Linked DNA regions of Homo sapiens: all the other regions are linked to region 1. Evidence: promoter capture Hi-C in 16 types of primary human blood cells and fetal thymus (Javierre and others, 2016). All regions are on one chromosome and are shown on one strand. Each heading gives the region's core, a stretch centred on a gene start or on the middle of the fragment in contact. The rest is flanking DNA. Distances are from core to core; before and after follow the strand shown.

Region 1 (4,122 bases), core at 584-3,083:
ATTCAAACCCTTTCCTGAAAGAAAAATAGAGAAATATTTGTTGCCCTGGGGATGTTGGTGTATCTAGAAACAGAATAAGCAACAGATAATAATAATTTGAAGTTTTATTTATTCATTTTTCACTTTCTTCCAAAATCTTGCTTGGGTCAATATTAGAAATAAGAAAAGGGCCATTTTGAAATATAAACAAAAATATAAGTGTTTAGCTCTCTCAAATATCTTAACAATTATGAAATTATTAAAATGTTTAAGAAAATAATTCTAAGATAAACTTGATTTACTTGTATTAAAACAAAAATTAGAGACAAAATTGTGGACTTCCTTTTAGGTAGTTTTAAAGCATTACTTTAAATAGTTTCAATTAAGTGTAAATAAGGTGAATTTAATAGTCTGACAAAGAAATAAAGCCTGGATGCTCTTAGTTCAATTCATTAGTGATGGCAAGGTATATAAAGTAAAATTGCTTAGAGAAAGAAAAAAATCAAATGGGATAATACTTCAAAAAAATAGAGACTGATCACCAAAAGTCTAATGAAGGTTTGTGAATCATGTTTTTCAAATGGCCATTTGAGTAGCGTGACTCATGCAATATCCTCCCTCCTTGGCCTCTTTCCACAGTCAGCCAAAAATTAGTGATGAAAATCATATGAGAAGGAAATGTATCAAGTGGTTTTAAATCCTGACATAGAAACATGGTTTGCATCACCATGAATGCCGAACTCTAAAACTGCAGGTATCTTGATTAGGTTGAGAGAGAAGTTTAAAAATCACAAGTGATACTTTAATGGTTTCACTCCAATGAAGTGGAAAGGAGCTATCTTTTAACATTTTTCTTAACATCTTTATTTTTTGCCTGCCTGATTTTATTTATTCCTTGATCTGTGAGCTCTGATATGTGAAGTGTATTTCTATGGTTCTAAGGTAACTTTTAAGCTTGATGATTTTCACCATTGTGGATCAATAATATAATTTATCCTATTTCTCCCACTGTGGCAATACTGAAATAAAAATGTAAAACCAGTTTATCTGTTTTCTAATGCCTGGTTTACTCTTCTGAATTCTATAAATCATTCTGTTTTTCATATATACACATACATATGCATACACTATATGTATACATATAAATTTACTATATATGTATATATACCTACAAATATATATGCCTACAAGTATCCATATATACCTCCTATATATGTATATAAACCTACTATATATGCCTACAAATATATATATACTCTCTCTACACACACATACATGCACCTACACAGAAATCTGCAGGAAAATGACACTTTCACATATTCAAAGGGATCCCAAAAGAGTTCAAAAGCCAAGATTGGAAGCACCAACCCATGGAAAGATGTATTTAAAATCACAAAATACTTCTGTGGACACTGAGAAAAACCAAGCCACACAAACGTTTACATATGAGCGTGATTAGAAGGTGGGCAGACTGCCTTAATCAACTTTATATAAACTCTTGACATAAAAGTGAAAAAATGAAACATAAATGATATATTTTCTTAGCTCAACCGTTAAAAAGCCAATTACCTACTCGTGAACGTTTGCCACATACAATAATACTTTGAAGACACTTCATGATCAGAAGTGAGAAACTCTAGGCATTTGCATCCAACCGTCATTTTATCTGTGAAACTGCTAGTAAAACATAAACCTGAAAGGCATTACTCCCAGCTCTAAGGCGACATCGCTGTCATTAAAGAAAACCTGTGCCTGAGTTGGCTGAGTACCTTCTTGCAGAGTCCTCTGTCCTCGCGGAGTGGGAGGGTCACACTGGGAGAGACTAATAAGGGCAGAGATGCGTCCCCCTTCCCCACTCGCAGGGAGCTCACTCCTCGGCGGTGCCGCAGCCCTGTCCGGACTCCACTGCGCCTCTGAGGGGCTCAAATACGAATTCAAGGTAAGCTGCGCGGCTTTGCGACCGGCTCTGCACTTGCCCTCTCACACATGCCCGGGCTATGTCATCTGCTCGTGTTCCTAGTTATCTGTGTGCATCTGCTTTTCAAGAAAATGTAAAAACTGTGCTACACATGGAAATATGTTTAGGTGGATAAATAATGCACACCTGCATACGTTTCCATAGGGGCCTTAAGGATGGGACCAAAAACGTTTGGCAGGAGACGGCCACTCTCATGTGGTACATACCATGTAGTTCGTGTTCCTATGTTCACATGATGCAGGCTTCATGCGTTACACCTAAGTTCTAGGTGGTTTTTCTGGCTATGTGTGTCTGTGAAGCGGAACTATGGAGCACTGCTGATGCGGGTAGGGACAGACATCAAATACATTACAAAAAAAATGGGGGGTTAAAGGAGTAAAACAAACTCACTATCAATTCATGCCGTTAGAGCGCTTTTTTTTTTTTTTTTTGACGGTGTTAGCCCTGGAAGCGAGGCAGCCAGTTAAGCGGCGTAAGCTAAGAGACGCGGGGTTCCGGTGCGGTGCCCTCCGGCCCGGGGTTACCTACTCCACATGTGGGTGTTTTTCCCAAGTGCGGCTTCTGGGGGGCGGCGCGGGCGCGGGCGGGGATTCCCGGACTCCAGCCCCACCACGTTCCGGAGCGTCCGGCCCTGTTCCTTAATTACCCTGCAGCATGCGCAGCGCGGTCGGCCACAGCGCCGCCGCCGTCCCCGCAGTCCTCCCTGCAGCCACCGCCGCCGCCGCCGGAACGTCCCAGTCGCGGCGCGAGGAAGACGCGGCCCCAGCCTCTGCCGCCTCCGCTGTCAGAGTCCCGAGGCCACCGCCGAGAGCGCGCCGGCGCCGCAGCCACAGCGGCCGAGAACCAGGAGGCGGCGCCGGGCGGCCCAGCTAGGGCGCTGCAGGGTCGCGAGGAAGTTTGTTGGCCCGGAACCAAGCACGCCGTCGGGCACGCTAGCTCCCCGAGAGCAGGCGGGCGCGTAAGCGAACCCCCTTAGAGGTTACGGAGGGAGCGGGAAGCCGGCAAGAGGGTGGGCAGAGGAGCTGGGGGACAGGCGGGTGCCACAGGAGCCCCCGAGGAGCTTCATTTGATGAGAAGGTGAAGAGGCAGAGGGGACCAGCGTGCCTTGTCAGCCTCAGGGGACAGTGGGCTGGAGAGCAAAAAGAGGAGGGCCCAGAATGCTGATAATAAGTAGTTTTAATAGAACAATCCGTGAATAGAGGCAAGAGAGTGATCATCGGCCACAGCTTGAGATTGGGAGATGGAAGAGTAAGGGAAATAAATTGCGCCACCTCCCTCAATCCCCAATTCCAAGACGACTCAGTCCCATCTTCTGCTTGGATAAGTCTGAGGAGGATTAAGATGTGAGGATAATCACTCTGCTGTAGGGGAATTTACATCTGCCTGTTAATGGAGGAGATGAAACAAACGCACACCAGTATCTATTTTCAACCACCACCCCTCCCCAAAAAGGAGAGAACACCAATGCCTCCCCCTCTGCCCGAATCAAACACTGCTATAATTCTTTAGGAGACTAAAGGGAAAAAAAAAAAAGAAAGAAAAGAGCCCCTGCTCGTATGTGGGGTCTTGGCATCTCCTTGTTTTTGAGTGGTGGGAAACTTGCAGGACCCTCTCTAAGTAGAGAGATCTTTGATATGGGCCTGCAAAGCTGAGATATTTAGGTATTCCAGTGGTGAAAAACATGCATAAATGCCCCTTCCTGAGGAGGGCTGACAGGGTTTTTGTGTAGGAATATCTCTTCAGGATGAAAAAGAGGAGGGTGACCCCCAGAGGCAGAAAATTTATGCTCTCTCTAGGGGATAGAAAGTGGAGAAAGTAACTGTCAGGTGCTTCCGTTAGGTTTTGTCCTACCTGAGCTCTCTAAGTGCTAAGGGACCTAAATGGGGTTTCCTGGGAAAGGAGGGAGACAGTATGGCAAAAGAGCAGGAAAGTGAACCTGAAACTGAAATGGACAGGACTAAGAAAGAGCAAAAAGGTGAAAGAAACCCAAATGTGATTATTACCACAATTGGGACATCATCTCTATATCTGAATCATTCTCATCCTAGAAAACCATCCAAAACAGATGGGAACTGTTGGTATTTTCCAAAAATGGAAAATTTCCATCTACTTTCTGGTCCTCCAGTTTAATCTCTCCTGCTGCAATTTTAGTTTATTTTCTCCAG
Region 2 (4,122 bases), core at 1,058-3,557, 300 kb after region 1:
AGATGTTTTCAAAGATAAAATTCTTCTGAATTTCGTGTATAAATATAAATGATAGCCAATGTAGCTTTAAAGAGACCTGATTTGTTCTCCTTTTGGTTCAGCCTCAATGTGCAATGCTCAGATTGGCATACTGCGGGTCTCCCCATCTTGGATTTAGGAATCTGGGTTTGTGCTCCGACTCTCCACTTCCTGGCTCGGGGCCCCTGGGAAAGTCATTTAACCTTAATGTGCTTCATTCACAGAAAGGAGAAGGGCCAGAAAAATAGATCCTTTCCGCTGATGCGAGTTGGTAGAAAATCGGATATTATGCTATATGTGTTCATTCCCATTCATGATGTCTGAGATGCAAGGAAACTCTATTTATGTAGCTCTTAGTGAACAAAAAGTACAAGAGGCATCGATGTTTTCATTATTGTGATTGAGACAGATGCACGCTCCGTCAGGGAAACGGTGGAGAGGAGAGGAGCCTCTCTCCGTGGCAAGTCTGCCCTCATGTGGGGCCACGCTCGAATCGCAGCCGAGCCGAGCTGAGATATCACGCAAAACACCCTTTTCTACCCCACCTCACAGGAATACTTTAAGAAACCAAACTCACCATAGAAAGGGCAGAATTGACCGTGACTTTCCGAAGACAATGAGGATTATTATCAGTCTGCGTGCAGTTGCATGCTTTGTACACGTAAATGAAGAGATTAGCACTCTATTTCCTAAACTTGTTTCCTAAATCTGTTCATCTGTGTTACTGACCTTTTCCCTTGACAAGAAAGCAGGACGGAAAGTATTAGGGTTCAAATCCTAAAATTCACTCCTTCCCCCGTGGGCAGAACAGCAAATATAACATGAGTTCATGAAAGGGACCTATAATTTTATAATGCACTTAAGATGTCTTTGTCTTCCCTCTGAATTCTCCAAAACCATCCATCCTTCAAAACACAGTTTAAATGTTTTCTTCCCTGGGAAACCTCCTTTGGAAATCTCAGATGAAAATATCCTTTGTCTCTCCAGGACGTAGCACACTAAAATATGGCAGACATTCAGTCGCTGTCAGATAAATGAGTTAAATAATAGAGTAATAAATGGATGGAGCGTTTGTCTTCCATCACTAGTGTTTGGAAGATGCATGCAAATTGTCTTCACAGAACACTACTGGCCACCATCATACAGAAACAATGAAACAGTGACTTCTTCAACTCTGCAACTGATATGTGAAAACTGCAGAAAGGAAAAGGCAGATTTGACTATTGATTCTATACAAATGTTTAAAAAGAAAGACAAAAGATTCTAACTAAAATTTTTATATGGAAATTTTTCCTAAATGCTAAAATGTATGATTTTTTTAAACTATAGAATAAGTTCTCCTTTAAGTGTTGGTTACTCTAGGACATGTCAATTTTTTTCAAGATGTTCTTATTCTCTTTTATCCTAAAGAATTTATTTTTGTAGAAACATCCACACAGGGTTGTGGATAATGTCATCTCCCCATTTACCTTAATTTTCTATTTGGTATGAAAAGACTGTGGAAAAAAATTACTTTTCAGTAGCCAAATTGTTCCCTATTCACATCTTCATCAGCACTATGGCATTATAGCCTGCAGGTTAGCAGGCTGTAAACAGTTAGTATAAATTGACAATTCAGAAACTGAATTTTAATGAGCAAATATTTTCCTCCAAATGCATTAGTGTCTCATCTGTCAAACCTGAACATTAATTAAACCCCAACTGAAAGTATCCGTGTGCTTCAGGTGTAGCTCACACTCCCTTTTCATTTCCCTGCATTTGCTTTGGAAAAGCTAAAAATTAAAATGTATTATTTTACTTAGAGTATTAAATTCCCTTTGTAAAATAGAATAGAAAAAAGTAAAAAATAGAATAGGAATAGTATCATTTGGTAAAATGATAAAATGTAGAGATGCAAAGTATTAACTTCCAAGAATAATTCTGTATCTCACCTCTTTCCTAAGGGTATTCCATTTAATGAACGAAACGGCATGAGCAGTTTATATAAAATTAAGGTATTTATATTTGTAATTATTTAAAATCCAGTTATAGACTGCTGTAAATTCGTCTCATCTTTCTCTTTTTCTTTTCTTTTCATTTTCTTTTGAAGGGAGGTGTGAATGTTCCCAGTTACCCAGGGCCACCCGGTCCTCCTGTAAGTACAGTTGTTTATCATCAAACACACTTTAGCTGAACAACCACAATGAAAAACAAACAATAAAAACCTCTTAAGTTCACTGAAAAACGCATGTTATGAATACAGCCAAATTTTACAGCAGAAGGAAATAAGTAAAACCAATTATAATAAAATTGAGAAAATGTATGCAGCCAAAATAATGGAAAACAGCATTTTTCATGGTGGTGTCACTTTTTTCATTGCAAATCTAAGAACTAAGTCAATGTCCAAGCAATCATTTTTATGAAATTTCCATCAAGTTATATTTATTCATCTTATTCTTCAAATTCAAACTGTAATTAAAGCAAAACTTGCTAATATTCGTATGTGTATTAAGGCAAATTGGACAACAGTGTTTCTTATTCTGTAACTGCTTTGGTCATTATTTGAAAAATGACTTTCCATGTTTCTCTTACAGGGCCCAAAAGGCGATCCTGGCCCAGTGGTATGAATGTTCCCATGTTTTGTGTCATTTAGAATATTGGTCTTTGTTAAATTTTGAAAGAAAAGCATCGGGCAAAATGGCCTGCCTTCTTAGGTGTTCATCAATTAACATGCTGGTGGTGACAAGCAGGCCACAATATAAATGCCAGCAATATGTTCTCTGTTTCTGAGATGCATTAGTCCTGATGTTGTCACTGCCCTTGAGGTTTGTCTCTTTCCGTCAGTGTGTTTTTAAAATCATCCTGTGATGGAGGAAGACACATATAAACTCTGATAAATGGGGCACTTTCTTCTAATAGCCCTCTTCTGATAATTGATTCAATTTTAAGTAGATTGTGGAAGAGAAATACTTACTGGAAAGAAATCCCTTAATATATCTGCCATCTCCCCAACAAAAAAAAAGGAACTGTTTATTTGCTTTAAACGTCTTAGGCAATTATTTTGCAGGAGATATGTTTTGTCATAAGGCTGCTTATTAGGAGGAATGTATCAGGAGGTTATGCTCAGCATGGAAGGAGATCATGTCCTCCAGCCGCCTAAAGGACGATAATTGTTCTCAGCATCTTTCTGAACCATGGAGCCTCTGTAAAAGTTCTGCCAAATTCAATTAGATGCCCTTTATTGCTGGGCATTTTCTCCTGTCATGTCTTTTTCAAGCATATCCTTCATGTTTCATTTGTATATATTTTAACCTTTGGGTATATACTTGAAACTCAAATGTACCTAAAGCTGAAATAAATTTTCAAAACACTTTCCATTGCCATGTGAAAAAAAATTTAAAGCCTTTTCATTATAGTACAGTTTGTTAAAACTCAATGAATAAATTTTAAACCAGCAAAGGGACAAGTCATAACAAGTAATGTTTTTATGTCTAAAAACATATTTTAAAGAGATGCATTAAAGAGCTGTTTGATTTTGTTATTGGGCAATATATATTAAAAGCCAAATTGTTATCCCCTGAAAGCATTGTTTCAACTAGTTAGGATCATATTCTGTAATTCAGTTTCCTTTGTTTTACTATTCATTCACCCTGTCTACCCTATCTTTACCTGAAACCAACTATACGCTTCATTCTAATTTTAATTTTCTTACATCTTGTTGATAAAAATTTCCTCCTGGTCTTTCCCTCTCATACTCATACACACAAAACAGCTTCTCTGAATCATTTAAAAGCACCTAGGCTTCTCACTGACTTTTTGGGAACATTCTTTGAAGTTCTTGCATTAATAACTGCAGATTAAGATAAGAACTTTTTAAGTATTATAATAAAGGATAAATTATAATTTACTGGCATTGAAAAGGGGCTGGCAACAAAAATGTAGACCTATTTGAGTAGAATTTGAAGAGATTAGTCTTCAAATTTCTTAGCTACAACAAAGGATGAAGAATAAAAACTGATTGAAGTGTGTTCCTTGCTTTTAGAGATGTGAATTGAGTGAGTGAAGCACAGAAACAGAAAAATGCAATCATGAAATGAAATACACATTTAGTGTACACATTCAGCC
Region 3 (4,122 bases), core at 845-3,344, 270 kb after region 1:
ACATATAAAAATAAGCCAAAGATTTTAGGGCTGTAGTAAATTTATACTTGAAGCACTTTTTGGTAGCTGTTTGAGGCTTCAAAATGAACAATTAGGCACATCCACAGGGGTCAGGATTAGAGATGTTCACTGCAGCCTTGTTTATAATAGAGAAAAGCTGATTACAATCAAAGTGCCCATCGGTGGGGCTGAGATAAACGCTGGTTTATTAACATGTTAGAATGCTACTCATCTGTTATAATGAATGAATGAGATCATATGTATCAATAGAGATGGATATTAAAAACAATGCTGAGTGGAAAAAACAAGTCATAGTATGTTATTTATGAGATAAAGCTATTTATGGAATTTGTTTCAAATATTCAATAATATATTGTTTATGATTCCACATATGCAGTAAAAGTACAATAATATAAACTGAAAATATAAATACTAAATTCTTGAGAGTGGCTCCCTCTGGGTGGAAATAGGAAATATAGGGGATTTCTTCTTTGTAAATTTTTTAATTTCTTTCATTTTGGGTACCTGGTACATGAAGGCTTGGTGTATTCTACTTTATTATGTTTTCTGTATTTATTCTTTTGAAGTAAAAAAATAGGCCAGGTAGGCAAAAACGGTATATGCTCAGAAATGTAATGGTGAACATCATTTTGCAAAAATGCTCTTGAAGTTAGGGAAAAAAAATCAGCATTACATATCTTCTAGAGACTATGTTTAATTTAAGAATTGTGTAGGTATTCAGAGATCTTGGTAAACACTAAAAGGATGCACAATGCTGAGACTCCTCTGAAGTCTCATTAGTGATATAACTCCTTTCTTAAGTATTACTTCTCAAATTATATTTTCCAAAAACACTCTTTATATGTCACATACAGATCTCTCTTCAAGGTTTTTGACCAGAACCTCTTAGACATTTCTAAGCTACTGCTGTCACCACATCTACAAGAATGCCTTATTTGCCCACAGCCAATCATCTAAGTAGCATTATAAACCCTGGAAACAGCTGAGAGACTCGTTTTGCTTCATATAACTGCTGACTCTGCCCACCTAAACAAAGAAAAAAGTGCCTGAAATAAAATGAGTCTGGATTATTGTGCCAGTTAAACAGTCTGATGTCTTTGAGATCACACACAAAAAAAATTGGTTTTGGCACACCAGAACAAAATTATAATTTTTCTCCTCTAGATAGATATTCTTTCCTGGAAAAATAATTAACTTTGTTTCACATTACATTTAAGTATCATAATGAAATATATGGATTTCTAAAAGACATAAAGCCATTGTGAAGTACTGACAAACACATTATCATAAAAATAGCCTAAGTAGATTCAGAACTTTGCATTGTCTGTTGGATGCTAATAGATAAATTGTATAGTTAGCAGGAGAGCAAGCAATCATTCTGTATCTGACAGTCACAATAATGCTTCTCTAACCATCTGCAAAATCTCTCTTCTGCTTTGTCTTGAAAGGGTGAAACTGGACTACCAGGATTTCCAGGGTCTGTTGGCCCTAAAGGACAAAAAGGAGAACCTGTAAGTATTTTAGCTTTGAGGACAGAGGAAGAATATCTAAAAAACGGGATTAAAAATACGTTTCCAAATCAGCCCCAATTCCACGTGCCTTGGTTGATCCTGTCATGGGAAACAACAGATCAGATCTTCAAGCAAGTACTAGCTACGCTATGCACTAAGTCTCTTACATGTATTTACACACTTAATCCATAAAAAGTTTCCATAAGGTCATCTATTATCACCTGCATACTTCAAATGATGAAAGTAAGGCATAAAGAGGTTAAAAAACTTTGCCCAAAGTCACACAGTACTAAGCATTGGAGCTGTGAATCACACCTAGGTGAGTTGATTCTAGAACCTAAAGTTTAAAATCACAAAGCTCCTCTGGTATAACTAAACACTGCAGCTAAAATAATAAAATCAATGTATCAAAAGACTAGTACAAATTTATCCAAAAGAAATTGGAAACACATCTTTCTGCTCAAACAACTGTTCTCAGTGTACCTTCTGAAGTTATTTTTCTTTCTTGATTTTTGTATGATCAAAGTGGCTTCCCAACCACTTTTTGGTATTACTGTGGCCAGTTTCTTTCAAAATGTAGTTCTTTTTGTGGGGAAAAAGAGAAAAACCCTACAGTATCATTTATATTCAAATAGGACCACCTAAAGTGATTAGAGAAATCATAGGTACAAAAAATGACTTGTTTTAATGCTTCTTTTAAAAAAGCAGTTTTCAAGAATCAGTGAGAATCAGGCTTAACAAATGTTTCATCTTTGTTTAAAGAAAAGTAATACATCTTATTAAACCACTCTACCCCTTTCTTTACGAGACTGAATAAAGGATATTGGTTTATCAGGGGATAAAACATGAAGAGGTCACTAAATTGCCTGCATGACAAACAGGAACATTATTTAAAGTATTCAGTGTTACAAAGCCAAATTTTCCCTATGCTTCAGCTTTAAAAAATTAACAATGACAGTAATTTTTGCAGCTTTAGAATCAGTCTGTGGCCTATGTACCCCAGTTCTTCTACCTTCAGGAGTCGTGCTTGCCCTTAGTATTCAGTTCAAGCCTTCTTACACAACTACAGGATTTGGCAGTCTTTAATGAGGTTCTCCAACTGAGTATTTGCAATAATGTCTGGAAAATCTCATGTCTCAGAAATCCAGCCTGGTGCATGCCCCTGGTACCTGCCAACTCTCTAGGTGCTCCACACTTGGAGGTTCCTCTTACCATCTCTTAGCTGCTTCTCTAGGTCTCCACTGTCTTCCCTCCAAACCTGAACACTGACACCAACCTTCTCTTAATTTCCACATGATGCATGGAGGACCCTGCAGTAAGATTAATAAAAATTTTACTGGAAAATCGAGGATTTTTAGAGCAGAAAGGAGAAACTTTCAGTGAGTTAGAGCGGTGCTTCTCAAATGTGAACATGCACTTGAATCCCACTGATTCTAAGTCAGTAGGTTTGGAAGCAGGACCAGAGAGTCTGTGTTTCTCATAAGCTCTCAGTAATGCTGGTGTTATTGGTCCATGGACCACACTTTAAGCAGCAAGGGTTGAAGGAGTTCATAGTTCCTAGGAGTCATAGGCCTTTTCCTCCTGCAGGGATTTCCTCTGGCTTTCTTTCTGGCTAACTTTCAAGGGCAGTCCATGTATCTCATGAGGACTGCCTTTAGCCCTGTTTTCCTTAAATAGAGCTTCTTTTCCTCCTAACTCTTCTCCATACCAGGTCCCTATTCATCCCTTAATTATCCCACCACCCCATACATCTTTACTTGCCACCTTCCTCTACCCCTACATTAAAACAACGCAAATTTTACATTATTACGGAGAGCAGTTTAGCTTTTTATGGTCTCAAACTTTCTCTTCCAGAACAGGATGTAGACTTTACTTTGCATAATAATCAGAAGGCCCAAACAGAAGAGTAGTATTCATTCAAAGGTAAATTCTGAACCACTGATCCCGAATGGTAACTAAAATGGCAAATTTTCCCCCACCATAGGACATTCAGAATATGGTTTGATGTGTAACACATCAGAGCTAAAATATACTTAAGATCACCTAGTTGAACCCCATGATTTTATAGATAAAGAAAGGGGAGCTCTAAAAGATTAAGTGACTTGCCTCAAATAGTAGCCATTGGAGCCAGGACTAAATATCAAGTATCTAGACAACTAGGCTCCCGGGTTTTTCTCTTTTTTTTTTTTTCTTTTATAACCAGTTACTTTAGTCAATGTGGCCACTAAACTTTACAGTGGCTGTAAATAAGCAATGACATGAGCAGTGTCATATAAGCAAAAACAAGCAGGGAAATAAGAATATAAATAAAGCCTTGATCTAATATATAGAAATCAACCACTATTAAGATAGTTCATCATGTTGGGTAGATATGGGTATATAGTTGTCCCTTGGTATCTGTGGGGGATGGGTTCCAGGACTCTCAGAGGATACCAAAATCTGAGGATGCTCAAGTCCCTAATATAAAATGGCCTATTTTTATTTGCATATCACCTATGCATTCTCCTGTATACTTCAAATCATTTCCAGATTACTTATAATATATATTACAATGTAAGTGCTATGTAAATAGTTGTTATACTGTATTATT

The links. The method cuts DNA at HindIII sites, captures the fragments that hold promoters and counts their contacts. A CHiCAGO score of 5 or more calls a contact.
Region 2: a fragment that was not itself captured here is called in contact with the fragment with the promoter of COL19A1 in region 1 in 2 of 17 cell types (naive B cells and total B cells); the score reaches 5.8 in naive B cells.
Region 3: a fragment that was not itself captured here is called in contact with the fragment with the promoter of COL19A1 in region 1 in 1 of 17 cell types (total B cells); the score reaches 5.5 in total B cells.

Annotation. Positions count from the first base shown.
Region 1 is chr6:69,864,723-69,868,844 of GRCh38, forward strand. It overlaps COL19A1 (collagen type XIX alpha 1 chain), which reads left to right and starts at 1,834. Exons shown (of 51, transcript NM_001858.6): 1 at 1,834-1,918. RefSeq lists silencers at 2,472-2,521, 2,742-2,791, 2,802-2,871. The HindIII fragment of the contact is 9,714 bases long and covers 932-4,122 here.
Region 2 is chr6:70,166,064-70,170,185 of GRCh38, forward strand. COL19A1 (collagen type XIX alpha 1 chain) reads left to right here. Exons shown (of 51, transcript NM_001858.6): 38 at 1,962-2,012; 39 at 2,108-2,152; 40 at 2,592-2,618. Among named protein-coding and RNA genes, the nearest start is that of COL9A1, 130 kb to the right of the region's middle. The HindIII fragment of the contact is 5,357 bases long and covers 1-4,122 here.
Region 3 is chr6:70,136,216-70,140,337 of GRCh38, forward strand. COL19A1 (collagen type XIX alpha 1 chain) reads left to right here. Exons shown (of 51, transcript NM_001858.6): 19 at 1,470-1,532. Among named protein-coding and RNA genes, the nearest start is that of COL9A1, 160 kb to the right of the region's middle. The HindIII fragment of the contact is 4,720 bases long and covers 1-4,122 here.